Regions from separate parts of the Homo sapiens genome. Here regions 2, 3, 4 and 5 are each linked to region 1. The links are contacts of gene promoters, found by promoter capture Hi-C in blood cells and fetal thymus (Javierre and others, 2016). All regions are on one chromosome and are shown on one strand. The core of a region is centred on a gene start or on the middle of the fragment in contact, and the rest is flanking DNA. Distances in the headings are between cores, read along the strand shown. Region 1 holds the start of SPATS1 (spermatogenesis associated serine rich 1). Region 2 overlaps TMEM63B (transmembrane protein 63B). Region 3 overlaps TMEM63B (transmembrane protein 63B). Region 4 overlaps CAPN11 (calpain 11). Region 5 overlaps MRPL14 (mitochondrial ribosomal protein L14).

Region 1 (3,398 bases), core at 797-3,296:
GGAATAACACCTTACATAACCAAAGCACTTTCATATGTTTGTCATCTCAGCTGATTGTCATAATAGCTCTGTCTGGCAGGGAGAAAAATAATACATCAAGCCATGTTTGTTTAACATGGATACTCATTTAACCAAACACTATTTCCCACCCCTGCTTATCTGCTTCACAAGGGGCCTAAGGATCAAGGACAGAAGTTTTTAACCCGTTTTTTGATTCTATCCTCTCCCCCATGAGCAGTAATGAAAGCAATCGGTTCTCTGATGGAAAAATGCACACACACACACACACACACACACACACACACGTATCTTCAATTGGTTTGTGGAGCCCCTTCCTTGCTGAAATCCATAGACTCCATGTTAAGCTAAACTCAGATGTATTCTCCTGAATAGACTCACCTACACAGCAGGAAAGGACACCATGGGTCTTTCATTAATGTGGTCTGGGACCTGGTACCCTTCTGCTACCCCTAACTCGAAAACATGGATCCTCCCTAGGACATCCTTAAAACAGCAGCTTCTTCCTTTACCCCAAACTGGAAACTGCAGGAAGGTCTGGAGCTTAAAGTTAGAATCCCAGAACCCTTTTCTCCTTGCTGTTGCAGACACACTTGGACAATTAATAGCTCTAACTCCTCCAGCTCCTCCTTCTCTACGGTCCTAGCTTATATTAATAGCTGGGTGGAATGAGTTGTACCTCCCTCCTTTCTCCCCACTGTGAAGGAGAATGAGGAGATCACACACCCAGAATACAGAAGACCAGGGAGAAAGCTAAGATCTGATCCCGCAAAGTCTGGATATTTCACAACCCCTTTTTGCAGCACTCAGGCCACTCACCCATAACAGGTAAATGAGAACTTGAGCGCAGGCGCACTCTGAGCTTTTCTGGGAGACTGTGGCTGTTCAGCGCCATGACACTGTTCTCCAAAGGCAAACGTGCCCCCAAATACCCTCCTCGGCCTTAACCAATTATGGAGCTACCAGCCATTATTTAATTTTTAGAGTGTTCATAATTCTCACCTGAACTGTCCCATCCAATAAACAATGACACAAACCTACTAATATCTGAGCAAAGGAAAGATGAAAGGACACAGGCTCGAAAGTATGGCAGACTCATGTCAAATCCCAGGCTCATGTCAAATCCCAGGCTCACCTTTTATTAACCCAAGCACTGGGCAGGTCAAATCTCTGGCTCCCTTTACTCATAGGTAATATACTTCTCCACTGCTGTGAGATCCAGTGAGGTAATTTATGAGACTCTCTGCTTTGGTGGTGCTCTCTGCCTAATCAAATCTTGGGTTAGCACAAACATAAGCTACTATTCAAGCAGCTCTTTTTACATGCCCCCAAACTAGCTTCCTTCTAAACTTCAAATGGTGCCCCCCACCTGCCCCCGCCCCCGGGTGTAGTATACTTGGATGTGGCCACCAACTCCACAGCCTGGATTTCTTAGAACTCAACTGTAGGTCCTCTCCACCTCGGTCATGCCAGAGTCCCTTTTTTCTGGAACCTTCTCCAGCTGTCTGCCGCAGGTCGTGCTTGAGATGGAGGGGAGACGGCAGCCCCGTGGACTGTTTCCAGTGAGCATGGATGGACTCATCTGTGCCCATGATGATTTTAAATATTAGAAGCAACCCAGAGACAAAGAAAGTCCCTCGTAAGAAAGGTATCAGTCAAAACAAACAAATTCCACAAGCCACCGAAAGTCAGGAGGGCAGGACTGGCCTCTAAACGGGAGCCTTACTCCCTCCACCTGGGCGTTTCGTGGTTTGGAAGCCCTGGGAGCCCCAGCGAGTCCGCCCCCAGCCCGAACCAGGCTCGCTGCAGCCCCCATCCAGCTCAAGGTGCTCCTTCTTTTCCACCTCGGGGTCTTCCCACCCCCTTCCCCAGGGGAGGCCCGGGTCTGTGCTCAGAGGCCTCCACGGACCAACGAACCAACTGGCAACTGAACTGCCGAACGCACGCCGCACGCCGAGGCCTGAGAACCGAGAGCCTAGGGCAAAAGGGACACCGCAGCCGCCTGCTTCTCCCACAGAGGCGCGTTCCGGGGTTGCCGGGACACCGGCTCCAGTAACGCGGCGCGCAGCGTCCTGCCTGGCTCGGCTGCCGGCCCCCCTGTCTGTCACCCCCCGGCTCTCTGGCCATTGGTACAGGATGGAGGCTCCTGAGAGGTACGGAGCAAGGAGCTCCAGCCATGGCCCGGCGTCACAGGCAAGGACCGCTGCAAAAGCCACTTTGTGATTTTGGACTTTTTTTTTTTTTTTAAGAGTTGTGGTTCTTTTCCAGGCAATTTTCATTATTAGAACTGTAGGCTCTGGTAGCAGTGAAAGATGCGCCCTCCACAAAGCTTGCAGATGCCTGGTTATAATTGGCGTTGATTAGACAGGATCCACCTACCACTTACAGAGCGCCTTTTCTGGGCCAGGCGCCCTGGTGGATATTATCTTCCTTAAACAGCCAGCTGCGTTTTTCAAAATAGAAAACCAAATTTTAGCAAAGGCTTGCGCAAGGTCACCCAGAAAACAGATTCATTTCTAAGTTTCCTCATTCCAAATCCACCACTCTTTCCATCATATTGACTTAAATTTGTCTTCCTCATCCTTTCCAGTATCTAATAAATCTTGCATAGAAAGCTTTTCTCCAAGTCTAGTTTAAGTCCCTAAATTCGTGTTTAGACCAAGTTTTCCCTTCTTTTGTTACTGATTATAAGAGAAATAAATGGTCATTATAGAAATATTGGAAAATATGGAAAAGTATTATTAATATCCATGATCTCACCATACAGAAGTTAAATACTTTTTTCCTGGATAGCTATTGCTATATAACAAATCACCCTCAAACTCTGTTGTTTTAAACAACAACATTCATTTTTAATTTCTGATCCTGGTCGTTGGCTAGGCTAAGCTAGGCTGTTCATGCTTGGGGTCTCTCACAGGGTCTCAGTCAGAGGTCACAGAGGAGCTTCCTCACTCATGTGTCTGGTGATTGATGCTGGTTGTCAGTTGAGGTCAGCAGGGTTAGCGCCAGTTCACCCATGTGTGGCGTTTCCATGTGCTTTCTCACACCAGTGTCTGAGTTTCCAACGTGAGCATCCCAGGAGGACCAGGCAGAAGTTGTATTGCCTCCATAGTCACAAATGCATGGAGAGGGAACTTAGATCACACCTCTCCATCATGGTCATACTGTATGAAGAGCACAGGGGACAGGGGATCTTGTGGCCCTCCTAGAAAATACAATCTCCCCTACTGATATTTAGGGGTTATTCCTTGTCCTTTTTCTATGCACATGTATGTCATATACCCCTAGTGATTTACACCCCTGCTGATATTTAGGGGCTCCTTCCTCTCTACCCTTTTTCTGTGCACAAATATGTTAACATATTATAGATAGATAGATAG
Region 2 (3,653 bases), core at 1-2,500, 210 kb after region 1:
AGAGGGTGGAGCAGTCAGCTGGGCTTGCCCCCATCCCCTTCATGGCCCAGTAGGGTGGGCGTGGGGAGGGGGCAGTGAGGACAGATCACCAGGCTGCCTGGGTGGATGGAAGCTCTGGCCTCTGGAGATAAGGGCCTAGGGAGGGGAGAGTTGAGTCACATGGATTTACCTTCACTGGCTCTCTGGCTATGACCCCACCCTGGGTCTGGGGAACTCAGTCTAGATGCCAGGCCTGGACTGGGGAGGCTGGTTTCATTAAGCTGGAAGGTATCTGTGATTTTCTAACATCTATCTAAATCCCCCCTGCCGCCGCCACCCCCACACTCTCATTCTCTCTGTCTTAGGGCAGGGGGCGGAGCTGAGCCTGGGAAGACAGGGAGGGGTCTTAGGCCTGAGGACTCAAGGGTAAGATGAGGGGTCTCCACGTCAGGGGAGAATGGGTCAGGAGCCAGCTGCCTCATCCTGATCTTTTCTTTCTATGCCTATTAGAAAAAATGGCATGATTTCATTTGGTTAGAGTTTTGAACTCAATATAACTGGCTTAGGTTCGACGATGGGTCAGAGTAGGAAGTCAAGTAAATAGTAGGACTTCTGGGTTTGAGTTACCTGCCTGGCCCCAGCCACTCCTGCTTATTCTCATTTCTCTTCCCCATACCATAGTCCTCTCTCCAGTTATTTGCACAGGGATCGCCTGAGTGTTATGAGCACTACAACTCCCAGAGTGCCATGCTCCTGCCTCTGAAGCAGGGAAGGCTGGGAAAGCTATGCCCTACGGCAAGCTTTTCCACTGGCAAAGGAGGGGGGAGTGGGTGGGGGCCTCTTAGCCTGCCTGGGCAGCCAGGGTGCTGCCTGGTTGCCTGCAACTGGCCGGCTGCATTGATGCTCAGAGTGGATGGGGTGGGCAGGAGGAGAAAAGGGACAGCCAGCCTGAGTGCCTGGGTTCTCAAAGTGCTTGGGGACAGAGCAGAGTGGGGCCCTGGGGAGGATCCCAGGATAGCGGAGAAGTGTGGCCTCAACAGATGCAGCACTGCCCCACCCATTTTACTGGGGGGTCCCTGGGGGACCCTTCTGCTGACAACACTGAAGCTCTGCCTCGGGGGCGGGCTGTGGAGCAGGGGAGGAGGTCCTCAGGGAAGAAAAAGGAAAACCAAAGAGAACAACAAAACTAGAAACAGTGACTGCAACTTCGGGAGCAGCATCCCTTAGCCCCCAGGGGGACTCAGAGGGTTTCTCCTGCCTCTTCCTAACACTTCAACCACAGGGCAAGAGGCAGAAGCCCTCAGATGGAGGGGAGGATGGAGTTGTTTATGTGTTTCACTTGGTCCCAGGGAGTCTCTGCAAAGCCTGGATTAGGAAGACTAAAGGAGTGTGTGCTGGTGTGTTATGCCTCTTCCTTTTCCAGTCCAAGCTGCCTTTAAAAACACACTAATTTAGTAATTGTATTGGGTACCATTTGTCCAGTGCCCTCAGTTTCAAGAATAATATATTACATGATTTCATTTAATCCTCGACGATCCTGAATTGAGTGTCACTGACATTTTAGGGTGGGGGCACAGGGCCTCAGAGGTTAAGTAACTTTCCCAAGGTCACACTGCTAATAAAATGAGGGACCTAGGACTCAAACCTAGCTCACCTTCTTTCTAAAGCTAGAATGATTTTCAGGGCACCACGGTGCTTTTCTGATGTTCCTAGAACAGGACTCGGCAGACCATGGAAGCTTTATAAATGCTCATTAAATGTTCTCAGGCCAGAGAACCTGTGGGTGCTGTGGAAATGTGTGTGTCCAGGTATGTAAATGTGTGTTGATGTGTGGACCTGTGTCCAGGAGGAGCTAGGTGACTGCATGGCAGTCCACGGAAATGAAGGGAGTTGTTGGCTTCGAAGTGGGGGTGTGAACATGGGTGTGTCTGGGAGCCCGGGTATGTAAACATAAGATGCACAGAACCCTGGGGCACTATGGGAGGTTAAAGGTAGGTATAGGTATCTTGGGTTGGGGGGACTCTAACTAGTCCCCCTTTCTCAATTCTCAACTCCAATGTACTCCAGCAATCTCAACACTCTATTCCCACCCCTTGCCTGTTTCTCTCTCTGAATTCCAAGGCTCCATCAGATCAGAATGAAATGAGAACAAGCCCCAGAGTACCATTCCTATCAACTCCTGTCTTCTCCACACCAAAGAAAGGTAGAGCATTTTGGAAGCTTCTACATGAAGTGGCCCCAGCAGGGTGGACAGGATCTAGCTAGATGGTTAGTAACTGAAATCACCATGCTCCTCTGCTGTCCGCCTCCTTGGGGTCACAAAGTACTCTCCCCTCCACAACAGCATTAATCTTCCCACCTGCATGGGAGGAAGGCAGGGCACACTCAGATCACTATCCCCATTTTACAGGGAGGAAGCAGGAACCCAGTAGGGGAAGCAACTTGCACAGTGACAGGACAGGTAAGGGGTGGAGCCTGGGCTGGCAGCTCTGCCAGTTGACAGGGCTGCTCCAAGCTTTTAATTGTGGGGGTGGGGTTGCTGGGTTGAGTTTCATCAAGGGCAGCTGCTCTCAAAGCCAGCACTGGGCTGAGCAACTGAGAAGAGGGAAGACATTGAGGCAGAATACCTTGGGGATGGGAGGTGGCAGTTCTTCCACTCCACGAGGTGCCTGCACCAGCTATATCCCAGTTTCTCTAGTCTGATATTGAGGTTTTGGTTGAGGTGTGTCCAGAGAGTGATGGAGCATTTTACTTCTAGCTAACTTTTTAATTTTACCATTAAGGAGTGTGTGCATGGTGGGGGTTGGAGAGCTATAACTTATAAGCTTTTTTTTGGGGGGGTTGTTGTGTATTTTTTTGAGACGGAGTCTCGCTCTGTCACCAGAGTGGAGTGCAGTGGCGCGATCTTGGCTCACTGCAACCTCTGCCTCCTGGGTTCAAGGGATTCTCCTGCCTCAGCCTCCTGAGTAGCTGGGACTACAGACACATGCCACCACGCCCAGCTAATTTTTGTATTTTCAGTAGAGACAGGGTTTCACCATGTTGGCCAGGATGGTCTCGATCTCTTGACCTCATGATCTGCCCACCTCGGCCTCCCAAAGTGCTGGGATTACAGGAGTGATATAAGCTTTTTCAGTGGAGTTACTGGGCAAGATTTAAGTTAGGGCTTTGGATCAAAGCAAGGCCATGTGGTCTGAGGGGAGGAGGGGAAGATGGAAGCGAGCTCTGTTACTACGAAACCTGAGTCTCAGTCTTCCAATCTGTAACAAAGAGATACAAATATCCTTACTCTACCCCTACCCACTTCAGAGAGAAAGGCAAGAATATATCCACAAGTGAGCATAAAAGTAGTAGTAGGTGCCAGGCACGGTGGCTCACACCTGTAATCCCAGCATTTTGGGAGGCCGAGCTGGGCAGATCACAGGGTCAGGAGTTCGAGACCAGCCTGGCCAACACAGTGAAACCCCGTCTCTACTAAAAAAATACAAAAATTAGCTGGGTGTGGTGGCATGCGTCTGTAGTCCCAGCTACTCGGGAGGCTGAGGCAGGAGAATCACTTGAACCCAGGAGGCAGAGGTTGCAGTGACCTTAGATCATGCCACTGCACTCCAGCCTGGGCGACAGAGTGAGACTCCATCTCAAAAAAAAAAGTAGTAGTAGGCAGGGTGGGGTGG
Region 3 (3,908 bases), core at 1,409-3,908, 190 kb after region 1:
GCGTAGTAGAGATTGTACCTGTCTACCAGGTGCTTCAGCAGCATGTACATGAGCCCTAAGGGAAGCCACATGGGCCCTGACCTCGGAACCAGTGCTGCCGAACCTTTTGTGTGTCTGTCACAGGTTGTTCTGGTCCTGAGAGTGCTGAAGGGTTGGCCCCCTCCTCCTGCCCGGGCCCCAGGACGGGATAGTGCCCCGTGCCCCAGCGTGATCACAGAACTTCAGCTTCCTCCGCTACAACCCCTCATTCTACTCTCCTCATCAGGAATTCTACTATTGGAAATCTAGTCATTTGAATCAACAAGCATCTTCTTAAAACCCGTATCATTTTTCTCTAACCCTGTCCCTAAACAGATACGTATAAATTAAGGGACAAGTTCTATTTCCCCAGAGGCTGAGGGATAGGGAGTTTCTAATGAGGACAAGGAAGTTAGTTTGGGAACTTGGAGCCTTCAATAACCAGGGAGGGTTGGTTAAGGAGTTAGGATGTTATTAGGGAGGAAAGTAGAGGCTACCAGTGGGGGTGATGGTTAAAGAGAAACTTTGCTAAACTTCAAAAAGGAAGAGAGACCTGGCCAAGTCACATAGCTCAGATACAGCAGACTATCTCCATGAGTGGCAAGGACCCATCCCACCCTGGAATCCAAGTCTTTCCTGAGTTTACAGGGTGGTGTAAAAGTGTGCACATGGATGCCTGTGTGGGAGTGTGTGTGTGAACATGTCAGCACGTATGTGATCTGTGTCCAAGCACATCCCGCTGAGGGAAGGCACAGGTGTGGGTAAGTATGGCCATGTTGGTGTGACTTTGCCCTGGGGCCCACATGCCAGCTGGGTCTGGCCTGAGCTGATGGCTCTCCCCCTCCTCCCCACAGGCCAGGCCCCAGACTGAGCCAGGGACCGGGCGGGAGCCCCGAGGGGCCGGTCTCCCAGCCGGGCCCTGTCCACTCGGGGTGGCCTGCATTCCTAGAGTGGAGAGGGTGAAGTCCTGGGTCCCCCCGAGCAGGGCCCAGGTCCCGGCGCGGCGGTGCCTACCGAAGGGCACGATGATGGGGCAGGTGATACTGTAGGTCATGACCACCGTGAAGACGCACATCATCCAGGCGTAGGCTGCGCCAAACTGGAACTCGTAGGCCTGATGCTGGGGGGGAGACGGGCAGGAGGATGGCTCAGGGAGGCAGGGACTGACCAGAGGGGCAGGGAAGGAGGGAGGGGGAAGGGAGCCAGGACCTCTGGGGCCGGAAAAGAAGCCATGGGGAACAGGACCTAATGTCTAGGGTAGGGTAGGGCAGAGCAGATGGAGAGAGGGGCTATGGCCGAGAGGAGGGTCAGGGCGGTTGCAGTGATGGGGCACGGAGAGGGGCCTTCAAGGGTCGGGGCCTGGCAGGTAGGGGGCAAGAGTTGGGTGGACTTGAGAGTGGGATGCCCAGAGCCCTCTTATTAAGACAGAGGGACCCTAGCGCTAGGGACCCAGATCTCCCCAACTCCCATCATAGAATGCTACTGTCAGAACTGGCAGGGGCCTTCAGGGTTACCTATGTCCACCCATGGCAGAATACGAAGGCCCCAGATATGGGAAGGGGATGGCCCGGATCCACCGTGAGTCAACTGTACTCCCCAAGTCTCAGCCCTCCTGTGCCCCTCAACCCTAGCGCGATGGCTGCTGTTTCTTGTTGGGCCACCAGGGGGCGCTGTGCGGGCCGCTGCTGCCCCAGGCGGCCGTACCCGCTTCACGTTGCGCCTCTCGGCGGCCGAGCGCGCCAGGCAGAGCCGGATCATGTACATGAGCAGGCCTGGGATGCGCAGCAGGTCCATGGCGTTGCCGATAAAGGCTGAGGCAATGACGTAGTTCACGAAGAAGGCGCCGTTGTCGGGCAGGAACACACACCTGCGGGCACCAGGTGCTCCAGCACTGCACCCTTGGGGTGACCCGGTGGCCGCCCGCCCACTGCCAGAACTACAGCACCCAACACCTCCACCACCAACATGCTTCTTCCATGTGGACACCCCCAGCTTAGCGCCCCAAGCACCTGTGCCCTGTTCCCCCCAGAGACATACAGAGTGGCAACAGACAGCTCCAAGAACTTGTGCCCCATAAAGACCCATGGAGAGAGTGCTCAAGACCACCTAAGGCTGCTAGAATGTTCAGGGGAGAACTGTCCAGGACCCCCAAAGACAACCCAATGAGACCCTCAAAGAACCCAAAGGCTGACAGCCCCAGGAACACCCAGAAGATTCCCCCACTTAGACCATAACTCGAGTTACCCCCAGAGTGTGACATGAGCCTCAGATACCTCCACAAACAAGCTTTGAGACCCTTCCCGCAACATCTCTGGGGGAGCCCAGGAACCTTTATCAGTGCCTGAGATGCCCCAAGTGTGACTCAAAGATCACCACAGATGGCCTACAGCAAAACCCCTAGAGTTTGTGCCCACAGCCATGGTGCATGACCTTCAATATATCCTCACATGATTCCCAGAGAAGATGCCCATACAGAACTCCACAGTTACATCTCTGAATAAAAGCCTGAAATTTTAGAGATGTTCCCAGAACTTGTACTGCTAAACATCCCAAAGTGTGAGTCCTTTAGCCTCCCCGCCCACAGACACCCCCAGAGTTATAAGGTCAAGAGCCTCCTACACATACCCAAAAATATGGGCTCTAGAGACCTTCAGGGATACCCCTAGTAGCCTCCAAGACACTCCCTAAGTATCACCAAGACCTCCCTAGAGATGGTTCCCCAAACCTCCCAAGTGGAACTCCAGAGACGCCCACAGTTAGTCCCAGAATATGGGCACAAGACACCCCCATAGAAACTACCAGAATGTGGAGCCCCAAGCCCCAAATATACCTTGAGGATGATCTTAGCATCCAAACAGGTTACCAGAGAGTGAACACCAACACAGACCCCAGGGACTTCTACCATGTATACACACCCAAGACACCTTGTGGGTGCCTTTGGGGTAACCCCGCCAGATCCTCTCTCTTCTGCCCCCTCCAGGAGTTGGAAGCTTTGTTGCACCCTCCCATGGGGCTGGCAATGTCTCTCAAGCATACCCACCCCTGCTGTCTGGTCTCTTTCCCTAGGGGCCCCAGTCACTCACTCAAACCGAATAGCTGCCTCAGCCAAGAATTTCTTATCAAAGAGCCAGCGGAAGAAGAGGTCCAGGCTGGAGGGAAGCAGAGGAGAGATGGGGTGGGAGCTGGAGTGGTACAGAACACCAGGGGAGGGGAAGTCCCTCCTCTGTGAGCCACTGGGGAGACTCCCAGACATGGGGTGGGTAGCTCAGGAGGCCTGGGGGTGGCCAGGCTTCCCATCTTGGGCCCCTTGCTTTGTAGGGGAGGTAGGGAGGCTGAACTGCTCTCCTCTCCCTATCCTGCTGTCCCCCTACCCTGGCTCCTGCCCCATCCTTCTCAACTCACCTGCTCAGTCCCAGCGAGGGTAGGAGCAGCACCATGAAGATGAGGAAAGTGTAGCACTTGTGCATGGTTGTCCTGTTCTCCCCAGAGCTGGAGGGAGGGGAGCAGGGAACGGTACAGGTCAAGTGAGCCCAGGCCCCAGACTTGCTCCCCCAACAAGGACAATGTCCAAGGAGTGTCCCCTGGGAAGGGTGGGCCTCCCAAGGTGAGGGTGCTGGGCACTACCCCTTCCCTACCAGCTGTGGGACTGCCCAGGGCCAGGAGCCTGAAGGGCAAAGTGCTGCCCAGAGAGGATGGGTCATTGAGGGCAGGCCACAGCGAGGTGTGGTGTGAGTGGAGGCACCTTACCGTGTCCAGTGGGCTTCAAAGAAGGCTGAGTAGTAGACGATGGTGGGAAGGAGGGCCGAGAAGCACCACAGCAGCAGGGTGGGGAAGAACTGGGTGATGATGGGGTTCTGCAGCAGGGCACAGGGGGGCGTCAGGCAGGGCAG
Region 4 (3,926 bases), core at 360-2,859, 160 kb after region 1:
ACCTTTGGGGACCCCAGTTTGAAGCAGCAGATGAGAGTCCTGGAGCCCTGGCTCAGCCCCCGTAGAAGCGCTCCACCATAGGGCACACCACACAGTTCTTCACAGGGAGGGACTTGTGTGCTTAGCATCTGGCACTGCCCATAAACGCCAACTATGGCCTCTAGTTATTGTGACAACTGCACATTTCTATATGCTCCCTATCACCCTTGGCTGAGAGCTACCCAATCCTTTGGTCCTGGGTAAGTGACTTCCACCCTTGCCAGTCTTTTCTTGGCATAAAAACACAGAGACATGGAAGCCAATGGCATGTGCTATTTATTAGAATAGTATCCACAGATGGGGAGGAAAACAGAGGCTGTGCCAGGATGGGTGGTCAGCAGGTAGGTGTGAGCAGGACAGCAAGCATGGAGGGTAAGAAACGGGCTACAAGTCCCTTCCCTATTCTTGGCCTCCCCAGCCAGGGGGACCCTGGGGAAGCATCAACTACTCTTTAGTAAAATATACTCTGAGAGAGCGATGGTGGGGGAAAGCCAGCCATCAGAAGCCGGGTTGGGGAAAAAAGAGAAAGCCTCTGAGCTGGGGGAGTGGGCACGGAGGTCCCACTGCTGCAGTAAACACGGCACCTGGGACCCGGGCACTGCCACCTGGAGCCCATTTCATCAGCAGAGACCGGAGAGCTGAGGGCTACAAGAAGCACCCCACCCTCCTGGGCTAGAACCTCGCTGCTGCTGCTGCTGGTAGAGATGACCAGGCTCCTACAGCGCCTCTATCCCCACATGGTCATCTGCAGCCACTGTGGAGACAGGAAGCAGATCCCAGGGTGGGAAGAGACGGGGGCAGGATGCTGGCCCGGGGACATCAGAGCTGGGTGGGGGTGGGGTTGAGGGGCAGGCAGGTGCAATCCTGCAGATTCCTTCCCACCCTTCTCCAAGTACCTGTTCCAGGCTCAAGCAAATATGGCCAGTATTCTTGGGGTCCATGGTTAGAAAGAATGCTGCGTTACAGAGGAAGCGGGGGAGAGGGGCTGAATGCTAAGTCAGTGTTCCGAAAGAACCACTCCCAACTAGGTAGGAAGGGGCGACACCAGGTGTTCCTGGCTGTTCCCCACATAAATCCCCTAGCCAAGTGGGGAATTAATGATAGCAACTCACATAGCCTCACCAGGAGCCAGGCCCAGTTCTGATTGCCTTCCATAGACTAACTGGTTTAACCTGCACCTCAGTCCTTTGAGGGCAGTACTATTATTATCCACATTCTAAAGAGGAGGGAATGGAGGCACAGAAAGATTAAGTGACTTGCTCAAGTCACCTCTGCCAGCAAGTGGCGGAGCTGGGCTTTGAATCCATTTCATGTGTGCCTTGTAAGGGGGAGGGGATCTGGAGCAGCACCCATCAGGGTGGGTGTTTGGGAAAGGGCCCGCGGCCCCTGGCCTAGGCTGGGGAGTGGGTAGATGCCTAACTCACTGAACATGGTCTTTAGCCTCAGGAAACAGCTGATGAAGCTGTCAAAGTCTATGATCAGGTCATCATCTGCATACCTGGCCACCAGGACCTGCATTACCTTGTTGTTCAGCTTGATGCCTGAGAGAGGGAGAGAGAAGTGGGGAGGGGAAAAGTCTGGGCCTCTGGACACTGCCATCCTCTTCCCTGCCCCAAGGCCCACTCCTGACCCTTGGCCACCTGCTTTCTCAATAACCAGGCGCATCTCATAGGAGTTCAAGGTGCCTGAATGGTCCTGGTCACACTCTCTGAAGATGTCCTGAAGAGACAGACAGATATGGTAGGGCCACATGCATGGCATGGTGGTTGAAATAATGAAATACTGAGGCCGGGCGCGGTGGCTCATGCCTGTAATCCCAGCACTTTGAAAGGCCGAGGCAGGCGGATCATCTGAGGTCAGGAGTTTGAGACCAGCCTGGCCAACATGACGAAACCCCGTCTCTAATAAAACTACAAAAATTAGCTGGGTGTGGTGGTGCATGCCTGTAATCCCAGCTAGTCAGGAGGCTGAGGCAGGAGGCGGAGGTTACAGTAAGCAGAGATCGCACCACTGCACTCCAGCCTGGGCAACAGAGTGAGATTCCGTCTCAAAAAAAAGAAAAAGAAATACTTTAGGACAGTTGGCTCACAGCAGTGGCCTAAGACCCCATGCCCCCCTCCAACCCTGGCCCACTCCTGATATTCCTATCATCTGGTGACCTAAGGGTTAATTCCAAGCATGGGTTGTCGGGGGCACTGGTGCCCTGCCCAGCGCTCTTTGTGTGCATCCTTCATGACTAGATGATACCTGAGCTATACTTGTTATAAAATATTTTGACTGGGTAATATGCCACACTCCAACAGACCCTTTTCATGTGTGTGTGTGGTGTGGTTGTGTCTGTATGTGAGTGTGTGTGTGTGTGTGTGTGTGTGTGGTGTGGTTGTGTCTGTATGTGTGTGTGTGTGTGGTGTGGTTGTGTCTGTATGTGAGTGTGTATGTGTGTGTGTGAGTGTGGTGTGGTTGTGTCTGTATGTGAGTGTGTATGTGTGTGTGAGTGTGGTGTGGTTGTGTCTGTATGTGAGTGTGTATGTGTGTGTGTGTGTGGTGTGGTTGTGTCTGTATGTGAGTGTGTATGTGTGTGTGTGTGTGGTGTGGTTGTGTCTGTATGTGTGTGTGTGGTGTGGTTGTGTCTGTATGTGAGTGTGTATGTGTGTGTGTGAGTGTGGTGTGGTTGTGTCTGTATGTGAGTGTGTATGTGTGTGTGTGAGTGTGGTGTGGTTGTGTCTGTATGTGAGTGTGTATGTGTGTGTGAGTGTGGTGTGGTTGTGTCTGTATGTGAGTGTGTATGTGTGTGTGTGGTGTGGTTGTGTCTGTATGTGAGTGTGTGTGTGTGTGGTGTGGTTGTGTCTGTATGTGAGTGTGTATGTGTGTGTGTGGTGTGGTTGTGTCTGTATGTGAGTGTGTATGTGTGTGTGTGAGTGTGGTGTGGTTGTGTCTGTGAGTGTGTGTGTGTGTGAGTGTGGTGTGGTTGTGTCTGTATGTGAGTATGTGTGTGTGAGTGTGGTGTGGTTGTGTCTGTATGTGAGTGTGTATGTGTGTGTGTGAGTGTGGTGTGGTTGTGTCTGTATGTGAGTGTGTATGTGTGGTGTGGTTGTGTCTGTATGTGAGTGTGTGTGTGTGTGAGTGTGGTGTGGTTGTGTCTGTATGTGAGTGTGTGTGTGTGTGTGTGGTGTGGTTGTGTCTGTATGTGAGTGTGTGTGTGTGTGTGTGAGTGTGGTGTGGTTGGGTGTGTGTGTGTGTGTGGTTAGGGCTTGGGTTCTAGCTTCCCCTCATTAGTTCCATCTCTCCTAAGACCCTCTTTTCCTCACCCCTGGAGGCTGCCCCTTTAGTGCCCTTTACCATCCATTTCTTGAGTTTTTTCCACAGGATCTTGAACTCTAGAAGCCCCAGCTTGCCAGAGCCATCTTTCTGGAAGGTGGTCAAGGACAGCAGAGAAGGAGTGAAGAAGGCATCCCAGGGGATAGGGAAGCAGCGGGGGTTCCTGAGGGGACACACAAGCCCTGGGGTTCCGGTACTGTAGCAGCCAGAAGAACTGGCATCTTCTGCTACCCCAGAGCCTAATCCCCATCAGGGAGGAGGACGTGGCTGGCCCAGGGTGGCCATCTCTGGGCCAGGCTTGTGGGCAGGGGACAGGGCCAAGAGAGCACTGGACAGGAGGATACATCCATGAGGTTGATCATGCAGCGGCAAGCATCCAGGCCAAAGCCCTTGGTCTTGAAGCTTTTGACTGTGAGGAAGGGAAGGGGTAGAAAGGAGAGACAGGGTAAATGAGGTATCGTGGGGGCACTGGGAGTGATCAAGAGGGGCACAAAATATGGGGGAGGGGTCGTGTGCAGCAGGAGTGGAAGACTCACATTTGATGGCCATCCTGTTGAGCAGCCTCTGGA
Region 5 (3,381 bases), core at 531-3,030, 230 kb after region 1:
GTCTCATTTGGTAGTCTGTGATTCTCTGTGTGTCAGATGTTAGTAGTTGCATACATTAGCTGCCTTCTTTTGCATTTGATTTTTCTGATCATAATTACATTTTGGCTGATGCTTCATGGGTTGTCTTAAGGAAAACATTTGGGAGTAAGTTTGGGATTTGAGGCTAAATTGTAGTTAATAAGCATTTAAAGGCCAGGTGTGGTGGGTGGCTCACACCCATAATCCCAGCACTTTGCGGGGCTGAGGCGGGAGGATTGCATGAACTCAGGAGTTCAAGGCCAGCCTGGGCAACATAGTGAGACCATCATCTCTACAAAAAAAAAAAAAAAAAAAAAAAAAACACAAAAAATTAGCCAGGCGTCCTGGTGCATGTCTGTGGTCCTGACTACTTGGGAGGCTGAGGTGGGAGGATCACCTGAGCTTGGGGAGTTCGGGACTGCAGTGAGCTGCAGTTGCACCACTACATTCCAGCATGGGTGACAGAGCAAGACTTGTCTCAAGGAAAGAAAAAAAAGTATGGAGTGTCTAGGTATTCCTGGGGAGGAGTGGATTCCCCTGCCCCACCCTAACATTCTTATTAAATAAAATCTTATCTGAGGTGGTTTGAACTTGTGCATAGCAAAGCTGTGTGTAAATACTACAGTGTAGAGGCTTTTCTCGGCAGACCTCTTGAATGGGCACCTCTGCTGCCAAACGTTTGGGTGGAAAAACAGGTGTGTTTTGCAGCTGGCTACAGGCCTTTCTGAAGCATGCTCTGAAGTGATGTTCAGGTGTTTCAGGGCACTGGCAGCCTCCATATTTGTTAGTGCTAGGGAGCAACAGGGTTGAGATTCTGAAAACTGGAGTCACAAGTCTTGGGTTGGTGTTTGCTCTTTTAGCTAACTCTTCAAGTTGGTTTCCCAAAGCCCACTTTCAGCTGTAGTATGGTGTAGGTCAGTTTTCCATGTTACAGTGTTTGGGAGACTGACCCAAATAAAGACTTTGGTCTTTGACTTGGCAAGAGCAGCCTTTGGCTTTGCTTTGCTGGCCTTGAGCTGTACAGGTGTTCTGGCCTTTACATTTGGGGGAAAGGTGATGTAGTGATAGACAACTTGGGTGGCTGCTTAGATAATTTACTTTCTTTTAGGGAGTTAAAGTGCTGGTTTCAGAAGGCATATGAATATCAAAAAGGGCAATAGTGTGCAGTTTTTCCTCTATGGAGGACTCGAGAAGAAGTCCCTGGCTGGGTTTATAACCAAGGGCTCATATTTTCCTCCTGCCTGTGGAAGTGATATAATAAGGAAGGCATTCTCCGTGCTGTTGTATTTTTTTATAGCAGAAGCTGTTGTGGGCCATTCTCCCTCTCCAACCCCAGAGTTAGAATGTGAATCAGCAAAATCGGAGCTACAGCTCTGTCTAATCATCTGTGTATCCTTTAACCACTAAGATTTATATTTTGTGACTAATGATCTTGTGCTGGAAGTGCCATCTCCCACACAAGTCCCCAAAGAAAACTGGCTTTAAGGGCTCTGACTTAGAAACCAATTTTTCCCCCTCTCGTTTTTCCTGCAGGATCTATCTTGGGATCCCATGGCTTTCTTTACTGGGCTCTGGGGCCCCTTCACCTGTGTAAGCAGAGTGCTGAGCCATCACTGTTTCAGGTAACTTTTCCCATTAAGTTCTTAAAACTGTGTCTTTGTGTAAGCTTCCTATCAGGGCTGGGTATTACGGTGACTAGAACAGGAGTAAAAACTCAGGGAGGTGGGCATGGGGTTGGGGAAAGCTAAAGTGATCAGGCTGAGCTGGCCTGGTTGGTCTGGTCACAGGATGGGGGATAGGTAAAGAGGTGATGTTGCTGTTAGAAGTGTGATGGGGAATGGCATATGGCGGAAGCTTTTACTCTTCAGTCCTTGCAAGACTCTTACAGTGAATCTGACATCTCTCAACCCTATCATTCCCCTAGAGCATTAAAATCCTTTTAAAAACGGAATTTTTTTAATTACAAAAATAATACATGCTTATTACCAAGAACTTGAGCATGATAGAAGTGTGACACCCTCCCCTCCTTGTAGATGCTAAGCCAGGAGAGCACAGGAGGCACGCTTGTTGGCAGACATGCCTCCTGGCCCCGTCATGCCCTCATCCCACAGGCATTTCCTGAGCACCGCACCTGGGGTTGGCCATACAGAGATGAAAGAGAGTTGCTTTCTGTCCTGAAAGAATTCTCACTGTCAGCCACAGGAGCAAACTTGAAAATAAGTAACTCTAAGAAAATGTGATAGAATATTATAATAGAGGATTGTACAGTGCTTTGGAAGGCGTCATATAGGAGCTGCTAGTGGAGGAAGAGGAGGAGAAAGAGTGGAGGCAGTCTTCTCAAAAGGGAGATGGGGGCAGATCCTGTCTAGGCCTCCAGGGAGAATTGGGAGGCAGGGTGTGCTTGGGGAAGTGGTTCCTGGTTCTCCTGCCCAGAGTGGTAGGATGTGTAGCCTTAGAAGGTAGGTAAATTGGGACAAGGTTGTTGACAGTGTAGATGGTGGGGAGTAGCATCACTTTTATATTCTAAAGAGAGCTCTTTGTTGGCAAAGTGAAGTGCAATGGGAACCAACTAGGACACTAATGTCACAGTCTTGGTGTAGGAGAGTGAGCTGCTAAATGAAGGAAGTTGTTGGCGGGATTGGAGAGAAAGGACATAGGTGCTTAGGGGGTGATATTAACAGGACTTGGTGGCCAGTTCATGTTGGTGGAGAGAGGTTTATGGCTTGGCTTCTGGTACTGCTGGAGAAGCCATCGTCTAGATAAGTGTAGCAGCAGGCGGAGGTTTGCAAGGGGAGGCAGTGAGATGAGTTTGGGACCTACTGAGTTTGCAGTATCTATAGAGCATGTTGTAGGGAGTTGAGGAGAGTGGAAATATATAGAACTAGAATATAGAAGAGAGGCGGGGCTGGAGATGGAATTTACTAGTTGGCAGCAATGCTAATGGGTAAGATTGCCCAGAGTAGGCATAAAAAACGAGAGAAGAGGTCCTAGGATTACCCTGCGGAAACACCAGCATCAGGTGCTAGCATCAGGAAAATAGGAATCCCACTGTAATCAGCTTGCTTAATAATACCTTGTCTGCCTTCAATAAGTACTCTCTAAAATTTTTTTTTCTAATGAGAAAAAATGTATTAAAACAGAAGATTGTTACCTTGACTTATTACCAGTTTCTGGTATGTTGTGTCAGAGAATTCCCTTAGTAAACTTACCCATATCTTCTAGTTCCCAGCAACATGTAAATAAGAAAATTAGGGGACCGGGCGCGGTGGCTCACGCCTGTAATCTCAGCCCTTTGGGAGGCCGAGGCGGGCGGATCATGAGGTCAGGAGATCGAGACCATCCTGGCTAACACGGTGAAACCCT

What was found. The method cuts DNA at HindIII sites, captures the fragments that hold promoters and counts their contacts. A CHiCAGO score of 5 or more calls a contact.
Region 2: a contact is called between a fragment that was not itself captured here and the fragment with the promoter of SPATS1 in region 1, in 1 of 17 cell types (naive B cells). The highest score is 5.7, in naive B cells.
Region 3: a fragment that was not itself captured here is called in contact with the fragment with the promoter of SPATS1 in region 1 in 2 of 17 cell types (naive B cells and total B cells); the score reaches 8.8 in naive B cells.
Region 4: a fragment that was not itself captured here is called in contact with the fragment with the promoter of SPATS1 in region 1 in 4 of 17 cell types (neutrophils, naive B cells, total B cells and 1 more); the score reaches 8.6 in neutrophils.
Region 5: a fragment that was not itself captured here is called in contact with the fragment with the promoter of SPATS1 in region 1 in 3 of 17 cell types (naive B cells, total B cells and monocytes); the score reaches 8.7 in naive B cells.

Annotation. Positions count from the first base shown.
Region 1 is chr6:44,341,298-44,344,695 of GRCh38, reverse strand. SPATS1 (spermatogenesis associated serine rich 1) reads right to left here and starts at 2,046. Exons shown (of 9, transcript NM_001372081.1): 1 at 1,928-2,046; 2 at 1,462-1,600. The coding sequence starts at 1,600. The HindIII fragment of the contact is 2,984 bases long and covers 1-2,349 here.
Region 2 is chr6:44,130,902-44,134,554 of GRCh38, reverse strand. The region is part of intron 1 of TMEM63B (transmembrane protein 63B); the gene reads right to left. Among named protein-coding and RNA genes, the nearest start is that of TMEM63B, 5.2 kb to the right of the region's middle. RefSeq lists enhancers at 1-424, 833-1,002, 425-1,390 and a silencer at 3,235-3,394. The HindIII fragment of the contact is 938 bases long and covers 782-1,719 here.
Region 3 is chr6:44,149,823-44,153,730 of GRCh38, reverse strand. It overlaps TMEM63B (transmembrane protein 63B), which reads right to left. Exons shown (of 24, transcript NM_018426.3): 16 at 3,766-3,872; 17 at 3,421-3,507; 18 at 3,102-3,167; 19 at 1,723-1,885; 20 at 1,033-1,138; 21 at 1-55. Among named protein-coding and RNA genes, the nearest start is that of CAPN11, 7.0 kb to the left of the region's middle. RefSeq lists an enhancer at 1,708-1,877. The HindIII fragment of the contact is 704 bases long and covers 2,307-3,010 here.
Region 4 is chr6:44,180,773-44,184,698 of GRCh38, reverse strand. CAPN11 (calpain 11) reads right to left here. Exons shown (of 23, transcript NM_007058.4): 17 at 3,894-3,926; 18 at 3,702-3,766; 19 at 3,379-3,447; 20 at 1,680-1,758; 21 at 1,464-1,580; 22 at 936-994; 23 at 298-793. The coding sequence ends at 767. Among named protein-coding and RNA genes, the nearest start is that of CAPN11, 24 kb to the right of the region's middle. The HindIII fragment of the contact is 4,304 bases long and covers 1-3,761 here.
Region 5 is chr6:44,114,800-44,118,180 of GRCh38, reverse strand. It overlaps MRPL14 (mitochondrial ribosomal protein L14), which reads left to right. Exons shown (of 3, transcript NM_032111.4): 2 at 1,552-1,640. The coding sequence starts at 1,570. Among named protein-coding and RNA genes, the nearest start is that of MRPL14, 11 kb to the left of the region's middle. RefSeq lists an enhancer at 806-975. The HindIII fragment of the contact is 188 bases long and covers 1,687-1,874 here.